3 separate regions of the Homo sapiens genome follow, and all the other regions are linked to region 2. The links are contacts of gene promoters, found by promoter capture Hi-C in blood cells and fetal thymus (Javierre and others, 2016). All regions are on one chromosome and are shown on one strand. Each heading gives the region's core, a stretch centred on a gene start or on the middle of the fragment in contact. The rest is flanking DNA. Distances are from core to core; before and after follow the strand shown.

Region 1 (3,702 bases), core at 307-2,806, 1.0 Mb before region 2:
TGCATGTGTAATGTCTGGTCAGCAAATGGAACTCAGCTCCCGTTTGAATTTAGGCCCAGTTAGCCACTCAGGTTCCATCTTAAAGGATTGGCTCTTTCAGGGTTCACAGCCCTCATGATCTAACTACTTTTTAAAGTTCTCACCTCTCAACACTGTTGCACTGGGACTTAAGTTTCCAACATATGAATTTTGAAGGATACATTCAAACCACGGCATACTCAAACATCCAATCTCATGGATACTATTCTGAATCCTGAAAGCACATACTAGCTAATTATTGAACTTAATGAAATGATTATCTCTTTTCTTACTTATCAGTCCCAGTATGTTTTTATCCCTCAGCTGGGTTATGCTGGAATTTAGCCATGATTTTTAGCCTAGAAGCCTAGAGAAAAAGTGGGAGTAATTCCTGATAAACATACCATTTATCTTATGTGAAAGTGGCCTCTGAAGTATCTTCTTGCATGAGAAAATGTCTAGCTCTTCATAGAGAATGGTGGGTCAATTCTTTAGGCTCTCAAGTTGTAGATCCTTGGGGAAATTTACCCAGATGTCCTCTTCCAATATTTTAATGCCTCAAGTTTTCCCAAGCAGATCTCTGACCTTAGCCTAAGAAAATTCCTCTATGAGCATCCAATCATCTTTGCAGCTCAGTGGCCCTAAACAGCAGATCCTGAATTTCCTCTCCAGCTATGGCCACTCTCTCTCTTTGCAAAAGATAAAAACACTTTATAGGCTGCCCAAGATGCCTTCTGGCTTTTACACTTACATTTGGGCTTTTGTTAACAATGCTCAATTTTTCATCATCCCACAAATGCAACGTATTCAATTTTCATTGTCCCACAAATGCAACTTAGTAATAATTAGTCAATTTCATTACCTTTCTATGTTTCTCACGCTGGATTTTTCAAATGCATGAATATTGTCCTGGTTAGGACATTCACCTGCAACATGACATTCTCCAAAGTCACCATTGATGAAATTTTTACCAATTGAACTACTGTCTTGTGCCAAAAAATATTCATATCCCACATCCACTTGAAAGGAATCCTTATTTTCTGGTTGGTGGCAAATGATCCACTTGCATAACTCCAACTTAATCACTGATATCACAGATTGTGTCCAGTATCAATTAATGTCACTTGGTTTTTCTAGAAAGGGAAAGCCAAGATTGAGTTAGAAGTGCAAAAAAAAAATTATTGGAGAATAATACCTTTTAAACATGTAAAGGCAAAGAAGGCAGGAACATCCAAAGGAAGCTTTCACACTGTAGTAAAGGCCTGGCTCCTATGAAAGGTGAGAAGGAAGCCAGAAGATTGGATAGGATGAGCCTCACACAGCACTGCAGCTCTGACAAAATCCCAGCCAACATGATGGGGATCTCCTTTAGGAGGACTGCTCTTTGAGGAGTCCTGTGCCTGAAAATTGAGGTTCTGTTGTACCCCTGCCATACTCATTGGCTGAAAAATGTCTGGGTATCATAAGGTCTTGGTTCAAATTTGAGGCATACTTGCACCTGGAGGCTGTTATCTAATTTGTCTTCCTTTTGACAGGTTTTCTCTTGAAGGTAGATCTGAGCCAAATACCTCCATGACTGCCCTAAAGACGTCTGACTGATAAGAGTCATGGCAATAATTTGTTCAAACAGCTAAACCTTTCAGCAAAATACAAAATAACTCCAAAAGTATGAAATTAAAGAAACCATCAATACCCATTTTGTAATAAACTTCTCACAATTTTTTGCTTTTCTCACTCTTCCTCTATTATTATCTTTTTATCCTTTATCTTATTATCTTCCAGTTTTATCTTATTTTGACAAAAAAGTTTCTTGCATCTTTATATTTTCTTGAAATAAAGCTTGTCATTATATTTCTTTTCTTTTCATAGCTGTGATATTGTTTTTATGTAAAATCTATGTTTCTATTTATTTTTTCTAATGAGAAAAACCTAATTGCCAGTATTAAGAAAGGTTTCTAACACATACACAAACACACACGCATGTACACATTTAACTTTTGCAAACACATGCACAACTTCTAACTTCTGCAAATGAATTATGAGGAATAAAATACATATACTCTTTGATGTCTTACGTCAAGAAGCTCACATTCAGCTAATCATAGTGCAGAATTAGGTTCCCTTTTCTCACCCTGGCTCCCTTCTATCTCCTGCTATCACAAAAATAACATTACGCTTGTGGAAGATAAAGACAGCATCCTCTTTCCAGTTTCCTTTTACTTCCTGCTAAGAGAGATTAGTTTATCAGGATGTGAGGATGTTGATCTTCACGAAAGCTACTCTGTTGCCTAATAAGGTAAAGTTTTCTCATCCATATTACTAGCTGGCTTCCTGCTTCTCCATAATAATAAATAATTTTGTGCGGCATGAAAAAAATGTTTTTTCAATTGTTACTAGAGCAAGCATTCCAATCAGTAAGTACAGTACATGACAAGGAGAATATCTCATCAAAATTCCTACCTATACATTTTATCTTAAGTATAAATCTAAAGTAATCTCATCATAACATTTGAAAACACATTGAATCAAAATTTCTTAAAGATTTTCAAGAAGGGAATCTCAAGTATGTGTTTTTTCTTTTCAAATGCACATTCAAAAAATACTTCTGGATGTATAATGTTATTTTAGGGGCCTGACTTGCTTTCTAACAAAATGATGGTTTTACCATTTGGTCTCAAATCATGAAATAAATTTACTTATATAATCATATATTTGTTTAGGTCTTTAGTATTATATGCCAAACACTGAGCTAAATACTCTAACACTTACATATCAGAAATATTAACTGGATCTATGACTCTAAATATGTAGAAGATGACACTCATTTTCTGAGAGAGAAAAAAATAAAAGCTGCAGATGCTCTAGAATAAAAATGAACAATTAATTTTGTAGTAAGCAGGTAGCTATCATATGTGGTGGTTATGAAAAATACAAAATGTGGAAGATATAGCCCCATTCCACTTTATTTTATGAGTTTGACTTTGCACCTTTGCTTTCCATATCTCATATTGAACAATTTAATGGGTACAGCCAGCCACTCCTCTTGTTTTTCACCCTGCCCCAAAACTGGCTCTTCTAAAATAGAACTAGTCTGACTAATACACTTTAGTTGGAAATGTGTGCAATTATATTGGTTTTCCTAATTTGACTGTGGCCTTGGAACACTGTGTGACAAAAGACTATTCACAGGGAACACACCCTCCCTTTGAAATATGAAATATACTTCCTCCATTAAAGAAGTAAGATGCTCAATAAAGTCAGTAGAATTTCACCAGACTCTTTTTCCCTTATACATATTATTCTTTGGCCAATTTTGCATGCAATCAAAGCTAGAGAAGACCCAAGTCTTAGGCCAAACTGTGAATGGGGATAGCAAGGAAAAAGTAAAATAATAACATCTATTTGGAATGTTAGCCCCTTGAAAACAAGGGAATTTCACATATGGTGAGGGGTAGAGGGAAGAGGTTAAGGCAAAGGACTTTGGATTCATATTGAGTGTGGGGCTTTGTACAGTTTACTTAACTCTTGTAAGTTTCAATTTTCTAACCTGTTTAAAGTATCAAAAATAGCTTCTTTATGAGGTTGTTATAAAGATCGAAATGAATTTTGTAAGCACTGACGTTGCTTTGCACATAGTAAGTGCTCAGTAAATTATTAATTTTTGCAGTATAATATTTTGCTCCA
Region 2 (3,690 bases), core at 349-2,848:
CAAACCTATTAAAACTGATAATTTTCGAATACTAAAAATGTACATTCATTTGAACAAAAAGATTCTATAAAGCAAGATTTCTCTGTTCTTACCAGCACTACCATGCCCAAACTACCTTAGGAAATGAATAGCAGAGTCAAACTTAAAAGCACCTGAAATTTAAAACAAAAACCAATTTACATTTTATTTAAGAAAAGCAAACAGATGGGCCTGCTAACAATGTCAAAGTCTCGTTTACAAAGAAAAAAACAAATCTGGAACCTGAAGTCAAACGAGTTCAAAATAAAAAGCAAACCAATAAACAGAAACCAACATAAACAGAAGTTACTACCATCTCCCTCAGCCTGTGAAATTCTGGAACTTCTCTTTCTTTCTCGCCTTCTTCTTCTCTCACCTGGAAGACGAGCAGAGTGAACACATCAGGGGTTGTCAGTTCCCCAGATGGCACCACATTCATAAACCACCGACTCCAGGAGAATGTAGGAAGCTTAGTTAAGGCCAAAGTTCTCTTTGGATCTTCCTCATGGGCTTCAAGGCAAAAGAAAAAAAAGTTTGCTTGAGAATATCTTCATATCTATTAGTTTGAACCATGCAAAATTACAGTTTTTATAGGTAAAATGAGTGCATATTGGCAATTTCAAATGATTAACCCTAATACATTATGCTTTTGGGTATAGAAATATTCAGATCTTAAACATATGCTGTTACATACAAAATCAGGTATATTCCTGCTTCTATAATTAAAGCAAAGAGAATTTCTTTTGGTCACTACTCCTTCTGACATGAGGTATGAACCAAGTTCAGGACCCCTAAAGGTCTGGGTCTGGGTCATTTCTCCACCTCTAACTTGTGCCGCTTTCTTGGTCAGTCATTGTGTTCTGAGCTGTCTCATAAAACATCTGCTATGACTTTACTTTCTCCTGATAGGGTGGCTTTCCATCGTTGGCACTTCGTTGGCCTTATTGGTATGCTTTATACACTGGTTCTCGTTTCCAAATTGGCATTATTATTGTTATGATTCCTGCTGCTCTCCCACATTTCCCATCTTTCTCCTGATCTCTCTCACCTGTACATTTCTTACATTTTCTCCTGTGCTTCCTTCTTCCCATCATCATTGCCCAAGTGTGTCTTCTTTCTTCTCCTTGTCACATTTCCTTTGCCCGCTCTCACATATGCAGAGATGGCTCTTGGTTTTCCTTCTGAAATCTCATAGTTTGGAGGTAAACTTGTTAGCAAGGCCACTGAGAAGAGAACAAAAGGGAAACATAAGAGAAACCAAGTCACTATCTCTCTCATTTCCTGGTTTCTAGAAGTAAGACCCAAAGAACTCACTGTTTCAGTGCTTTCAGCTCAGGCCAAACTAGGGTGATCAAACTGAGCTTCTGAGTGCTGATCAAAACCTATAAAACCAAGTAGACAGACCATCTACAAATCTTCACTGTTAAATACCATAAAGAATGAAAAGGTCACTAATTGGTAAGACTATATGTGTGATAATTAAATTTATGCATCAACCTGGCTAGGCTAAAGGATGACCAGGTAGCTGGTAAAACATTATTCTGGGTGTGTCCATAAGAGTGTTTTCGGAAGAGATCAGCATTTGAATTGGTGAACTTAGTAAAGCAGACGGCTCTCACCAATAAGGGCAGGCATCATCCAATCTGTCGAAAGCTTGAATAAAACAAAAAGAGGAAGGGAAAATTTGCTTCTTTTCTTCTTGATCTAGTATATCATCTTCTCCTGCCCTTGGATGTGAGTGGGCCTTCAGACTTAAACCAGGAGTTACACCTTTGGCTTCCCTGGTTCTCAGTTCTTTGGACTTGGACTGAATTACACTGCCAGGTTTCCTGGTTCTCCAGCTTGCAGATGGCAGATCATGGGACTTCTTGGCCTCCATAATTGTGTGAGTCAATTTCCATTTTATTTACATATCCAGTTATGCATTGCTTAACAATGGAGACAGGTTCTGAGAAATGCATTGTTAAGTGATTTCATCATTGTGCAAACATCATAGAGTGTAACTACACAAACCTGGACAGCATAGACTACTACACATCTAGGCTACATGGTGTAGCTTGTAACCTCATGATAAGTATGTATAACATCATGATAAGTATGTATGTATCTACCATATCTAAATGTAGAAAAGGTACAGTAAAAATATGGTATAATCTTATGGGATCACCATCATATATGCAATCCTTTGTAGACTGAAATGTCATTGTGTAGTGCATGACTGTATACGCACACATACACAAACACACACAAATATACTATTGGTTCTTTTTCTCTGAAGAGCCCTAATACAATATGTTATACATTTATATTGACTCTATTTCAAAATTTATGGTTTTGGTGAAACATATGTGGAGATGGGGCATAGGTGTGTGAACTGGGATAGTGTCCTGCTGATGAATGGGTGGGAGGCATCATTTGGGACAAGCCCAGGGCATCAGCTTATAGATATCAAGAGCTCAACAAGAGCACTTTATGGCAAAACCTCCCACAAGACCTCTCAGAAGTTGAGAAACTGCTAAAAGTTTCTTTATGACAGATGACATTTATGGATAAAATAGGGATTAGCAGGATTCTTTAAATACTTTCGAACACTAACCTTCATTTCTACCAGGCAGTGGGGCCCCAAGTGCAGGGCCATAGGAAGTACAAGTCTGGGAGATACTAGGCTGCACTGTCTGTAGAGAATCTGAAAAAATAATAGAGTCACTGAAATGCAGTTTGGTATAATTATTGCCATGCATCATAATTCTAAATCATACTAGTGGTCAAATACTCTTCCCTGAAAAAACATTTTCTTGGTTTGAATTCTAAATAATTGTTGTGGTCACCACTGAGCTTTTAAATATATAAATACTTTCAAGTTTGCATATTTTTATTACCTGTTCCTTAACAAACATTGAATTCAACATGAAAATGATTATGGGAAACATTCGGGTATACAGTCCCTGACTCTTAAGGACTCAGGTAAATACTTAGGGTATTTCATGGCCCTAGTCTTTGGGGTACCACATGTTTCTTCTTCAAATCACAGATTCAAAATCAAGAATGATAACACAGTGATTGTGTAGACAAAATAAGTGAACCAAAATTGCTTGCTTCTGTCATTCTATGGAACCACTGAGAGTTTTTACTTGTGCTTAAAATTTTGAATAGTAAAACAGAGTGTCAACTTCATGCTGGAATATTTTTGGCTTTTTAGACACAATTTTAAGTACATGAAGTATTTTTACAAGACTAAGTAACATCACTGAAATTACAGCTTTCTTCTTTTTAAAACTGGTATTTGTTATAAAACTAAAGAGCGAATCAAGAAAAGCATAATTATTACTGATTATTACAGGATTATTACTGAAAAAGAAATGTACGGAATAGAGGAGGAAGGAGTTAACAAATGATCCACTCTGGGTGTTGAAAACACCAATAAGCCTGCTTCCAGGAAGTGCCTAAGACAGAGCTGGCTCAGCTTGCTGGGTCACAGCATGTAAGGAAACTGCTGGGCTACATGCCACCATCCTCAGTTGTCCAGATAGATAATCCCATAGCCCCATGGGGAAATAATCTTTAATTATGATATAGCTGACACCATTCAAAGCACTATGCTAAGTCCTTTATGTGAATTAACTTTTGTCAAATTTATTTTTCATAAATAACCCAAATATGTATACCACTATT
Region 3 (4,171 bases), core at 106-2,605, 1.0 Mb before region 2:
TACAATATTACTTTTATTTGTTTATAAAAGCCAGAGGAATTAAGACAGTACAAATTCCACGTTCCATTTTTAATCTTCATAGTTCTTTGTAGGTTTAGCCACATTTTCCTTCCTTATTTATTTCATAATTTGAAAAACCATAATGACATCTACTTGATCTTGAATTGCAATAAAATTTTCATTTTTGTCATAGCATTTACCTCATTTTAGATAAAATTTGACTTAGATGGTTTGGTTTTAAATTGTTGCTGTTGTTTTCATTTGTAAGCTTCATGGTAGCCTGTACACTAAAAATTACAAATATCACTTGTCCTTGCACAAAGTTACCCTCTAATTTAAATATTTTCCCTCAAACTTCCCCTTATTCTGACTTGGGATATCCTCATGTCATTAAAGATTTTGATTTCCTAAAAGGTCCTCAAAATTTTGTAGAAAAGCACTTTATTCATTACTAACCTAGTATATACACATATGATTCTAATTTTCTTCCCATGTTTTAAGGCTTTTATAGTAATATTACACAAATGGTCTGCCTAACAGCCAATCATTTCCAAGATAAAAATGGGCCAAGAGACAAATGACAGGCAATTATTAAGCCTTTTAAGGAGAAACTGTTAAGCCTAGAAGAATATTGATACAAACTGACTTTCTGCACAGTGGACTCAACAAAGCTAACATAATTCACACCAGAGATTCTCTATGGGACCATAAATTAATCAGATTGAAAAGATGGCAACCCAGAAACACAATAAATTGTTCTATGGCATAGTAAGGCACCCTCCACATTCTTATTTTCAATGGCACAATAAGACACATACACACACACCTGACAAAGAATGAATAATTTTGGAAAAAGCTGCCATGTTTTCAGTTTAATCTAAAGACAGAGAGAGAAAGAGGAGGAGGAGGAGGATCCTATATTCACTCCTAACTGCAAGTTTGGAAGAGGTATGAGGAATTTGGGAGTGAGGCAAAGAGGCCACAATGTAAGGGAGAATTGAAATACAACTCGAAAGCCTGGCATCCATGAGGTGAGAGGAGAGCAGGAGATGCCAGAGTTACCCATTACTGACTTGGCTTACTTTACAGAACACAGGAAACTGTTGCTTCTAAGAAAATATCTATTTCATCATAAAAGAATTACAGCTCTTTTGTACATATGAATTTAGCCTGTTTTAATTTTGCCTGGCATTTTGGCTTTGCAAATCTTTAGGTATGAGTGCTAAAGTGTTATTCCAACCATTTCACTCTTTCCCAGTGAATGTTAGAACAATCACCTTTCGGTTAATAAACATGCAGTTTTTTACAACTACTATCACAAGTAACAGTTTAGTGTGTAGAAAGAATCAATGGTAAATTTTGGTGTTTCCAGTAGCTCAATATCTCATTTATCCTTTAGGTATCTGGCAAGCTGTCTTTCCCTTTTCTGGTCACCACTCCTCTGGGGATGTAGCCAAGTACAAAATTGCACATTTCTCCTCCCACAAGTGTCTCAGCTCCCACAGAAAACAAAATCTACATCAAGCATGTTTAAGATGATCTACATGTGAAGTAGAAAGGTTAACACACAAGAGGAGTAACAGACTCATTTATTTATTTATTTTTACCTTCAAGGAGTTTAAATACAAACACAGAGAGAAAACTGAAAATAAGCATGATTCTAGAATTTGTATTATTGTTATATATATATTTTTTAAGTAGATAAGCATAAAACTAAGGAATTGCTCAGATGACCAAGTCTGGAGCAAAAACATCTGACACAGGAAAGTGAGAAAATAAAATGGGGGCCTTGAGTAGAAAAATTTCAATGGGTTAATTTCTGCTGGCGTTCAACATGTTATGCCATAGCAAACAAATAAGAATCATGCTGGGTCTCAATTTATCAGATTCCTTTAATTTACTAAGACTGCATATTAAACTAAATTGTTAGCAGCTGGTTGACTACCTCAACCTAACTCAACTCCTGGGAGCAATTACAGAGCTTCTCAAAATCTGTCCCTGTGTGCATCAAATTGATGTTGGAAAGAAAAAGATACCTCTTTCTAAAGTACTTTATTTCAGCCTTTCAAATTCACCTTCTGAAACCTAGGTGACATTCCTTCTAAACACTGTATACGGTATTGCTTAAGACAAGGAAAGTTTTCCCCCAAAACTATTTGTGCTCCCTTCACTCTGGTAGAATTTTTGGTAAGTTCTTTGGCCTATGCCCACCATATACTAGGCCGCCCTTGCTCACAGAAGGCCACAGCAAACCCCTTCTGCAAGCCCACGATGGAATCGTAAATCTTTACAACTTATTGAAGTCTTCCAGATTTTTAAATATGCCCATGATCCAGACTTTTTGCTTGCATGTTTAAATGGTTGCCTGATGGCTTGCAACAAGAAGTAGAAAGGCATTTTTCTTAAAATAAGCAAACAACCATGGCAAATGAGGTCATATTCCCAAGCTTGAATAATAAATATTGCTAAAATCTACAACCTGAAACATATTTTAAGAATTAGACATAGATTTGGGTTTTTTCTTTCTTTTTCAGGAAGGGGTCTCCCTTGCTGCCAATAAAAATTGCTTTGTGTTGTAAAATTTGGGTTCAGCTTGTCTCCTCCTTATATAAGCCCAGTTGAATAGACTGCTGAGGGAAAATCAAAGTTTAAGAGCCTGGCTTTTCCCGTTTGGCAACTTTCATTTCCTGATAATATCGGATAATTAACAAATTGTGTGTTTTAATGCCCTGTCTCTTGAAGCGCATTTGGGAAAAATACTTCTTGTGCCCTCTGAGTAATGGCTTAAATGGAAGAACATGCTCAAAAGAATGCTTTTTCTCAATGCATGAAACACACTCAGCATTTATTATTTTAATTGCTACACATCATGTGTATACTCGTTCGTGTAATTATATACATATTTAAAGGGCAAGAGGAAAAGATTATTTTAGGACTCTATAATTCATTATGAGCAAGGCATTGAAAATTTCTAACTCAAGATGAAAATTCATAAAAATTCTTTGGCAAAAACACCTTAGTATTCTCAATACGGTAACTGACTTTTTTTTTTTTGCGTTATGAAATAACTAGATACTACCGTGCGTTGCTTTTGGATAAAAGGGGAATGCTGTTTCTTAGCCTTTCTGTCTCTTTACTAAATGGATAATTCAGGACTGGGAAATGCAGCTCTAAGTTTGTTGTTTACGAAAAACACATGCTAATGTAACAGCGTATGAGGAATTAAAGAGAAAATGTCAAACGCGCCTTGACATCCAAAATGCATTTAGCTGTTGGCTTTTACTACAGGGCCTTTCACTCTCCAGCCGACCCCCTCCAAGACCAAGTGTTTTTGCGTGTTGGGCTAAAAATAGCCAGCCAAGCCTAACAACTAGCTTCTGATTGGCTCAGAGCAAAGGCCACTCAGCCAATAAGAGCTTCTGGGAACAAAAGCAATTCTTTTGTGTGAGATACTCAACCCACGTCAAAACAGCTTCAGGCTGTAGAAATGATTTTGGTTGAGCTTTAACAAGGTAATAATGCATTTCAGCCCTCTGAAAGGTTTGAAGCGGAACAAAGGGAGTAGTGAAATCTACAAAACAAATGGAGCGCTCAAGGCTTTCATGGGATGAATCATCCGGGTGCCTGAGCTACAAACAGTTGCAAGCTCAGAAAAGAAAAAGCGCTAGGATTTTCTTTCTTTCTTCCTGAGATTTTAACTTATTTTTCAAGCGAAAAACAAAACAAAACAAAAACAAAAAACTAACGAAAAGCCATCAAAGGCGTTGTATCTTGACTATGCCCAAATTTGTTATTATGCTTATTTGATGATGAATAAAAAGCAATTCTTCCACGGTTCCCTTAAATCTCACAAAGAGAAAACAAATGTATGTGTAGTAGATAGTAGGTAGTAAAGCTCCCGAAACTTTGGGCTTTCGTTTTTGGGCACCAAAAGCAGCCCATGTTTTCAGAGTAAAGGCAGGTCTTGATTAATGCTGTGATAGTTCTCAAGGTAAGCAAATTACAGCAGCACTTGATTGGAGAAAAGCATTGAAGTTTTGGAGGTTTTGGCCACTTTCAAGGCATTGTGCCTCTAGGGGTCGCTGTTGGACAGCGGACGAACCTCTTCAGGGCATCCTTCCCCCTTTAATAGTCACTAAAAGAAGAAGCTTAGTAGGCGCCTTTCAGGTAG

Evidence for each region. The method cuts DNA at HindIII sites, captures the fragments that hold promoters and counts their contacts. A CHiCAGO score of 5 or more calls a contact.
Region 1: a fragment that was not itself captured here is called in contact with the fragment with the promoter of CLLU1 in region 2 in 2 of 17 cell types (fetal thymus and endothelial precursors); the score reaches 6.1 in fetal thymus.
Region 3: a fragment that was not itself captured here is called in contact with the fragment with the promoter of CLLU1 in region 2 in 1 of 17 cell types (M2 macrophages); the score reaches 5.5 in M2 macrophages.

Annotation. Positions count from the first base shown.
Region 1 is chr12:91,398,229-91,401,930 of GRCh38, forward strand. LOC105369896 (a long non-coding RNA gene) reads right to left here. Exons shown (of 9, transcript XR_001749251.2): 3 at 881-1,151; 4 at 1-609. Among named protein-coding and RNA genes, the nearest start is that of LINC02823, 73 kb to the left of the region's middle. The HindIII fragment of the contact is 598 bases long and covers 1,258-1,855 here.
Region 2 is chr12:92,419,933-92,423,622 of GRCh38, forward strand. CLLU1 (chronic lymphocytic leukemia up-regulated 1) reads left to right here and starts at 1,599. Exons shown (of 2, transcript NR_027933.1): 1 at 1,599-1,903. It overlaps CLLU1-AS1 (CLLU1 antisense RNA 1), which reads right to left. Exons shown (of 3, transcript NR_144319.2): 2 at 1,082-1,241; 3 at 154-528. The HindIII fragment of the contact is 1,184 bases long and covers 486-1,669 here.
Region 3 is chr12:91,378,136-91,382,306 of GRCh38, forward strand. All of the region lies in intron 4 of LOC105369896 (a long non-coding RNA gene), which reads right to left. Among named protein-coding and RNA genes, the nearest start is that of LINC02823, 53 kb to the left of the region's middle. RefSeq lists enhancers at 2,757-3,590, 3,591-4,171. The HindIII fragment of the contact is 2,179 bases long and covers 267-2,445 here.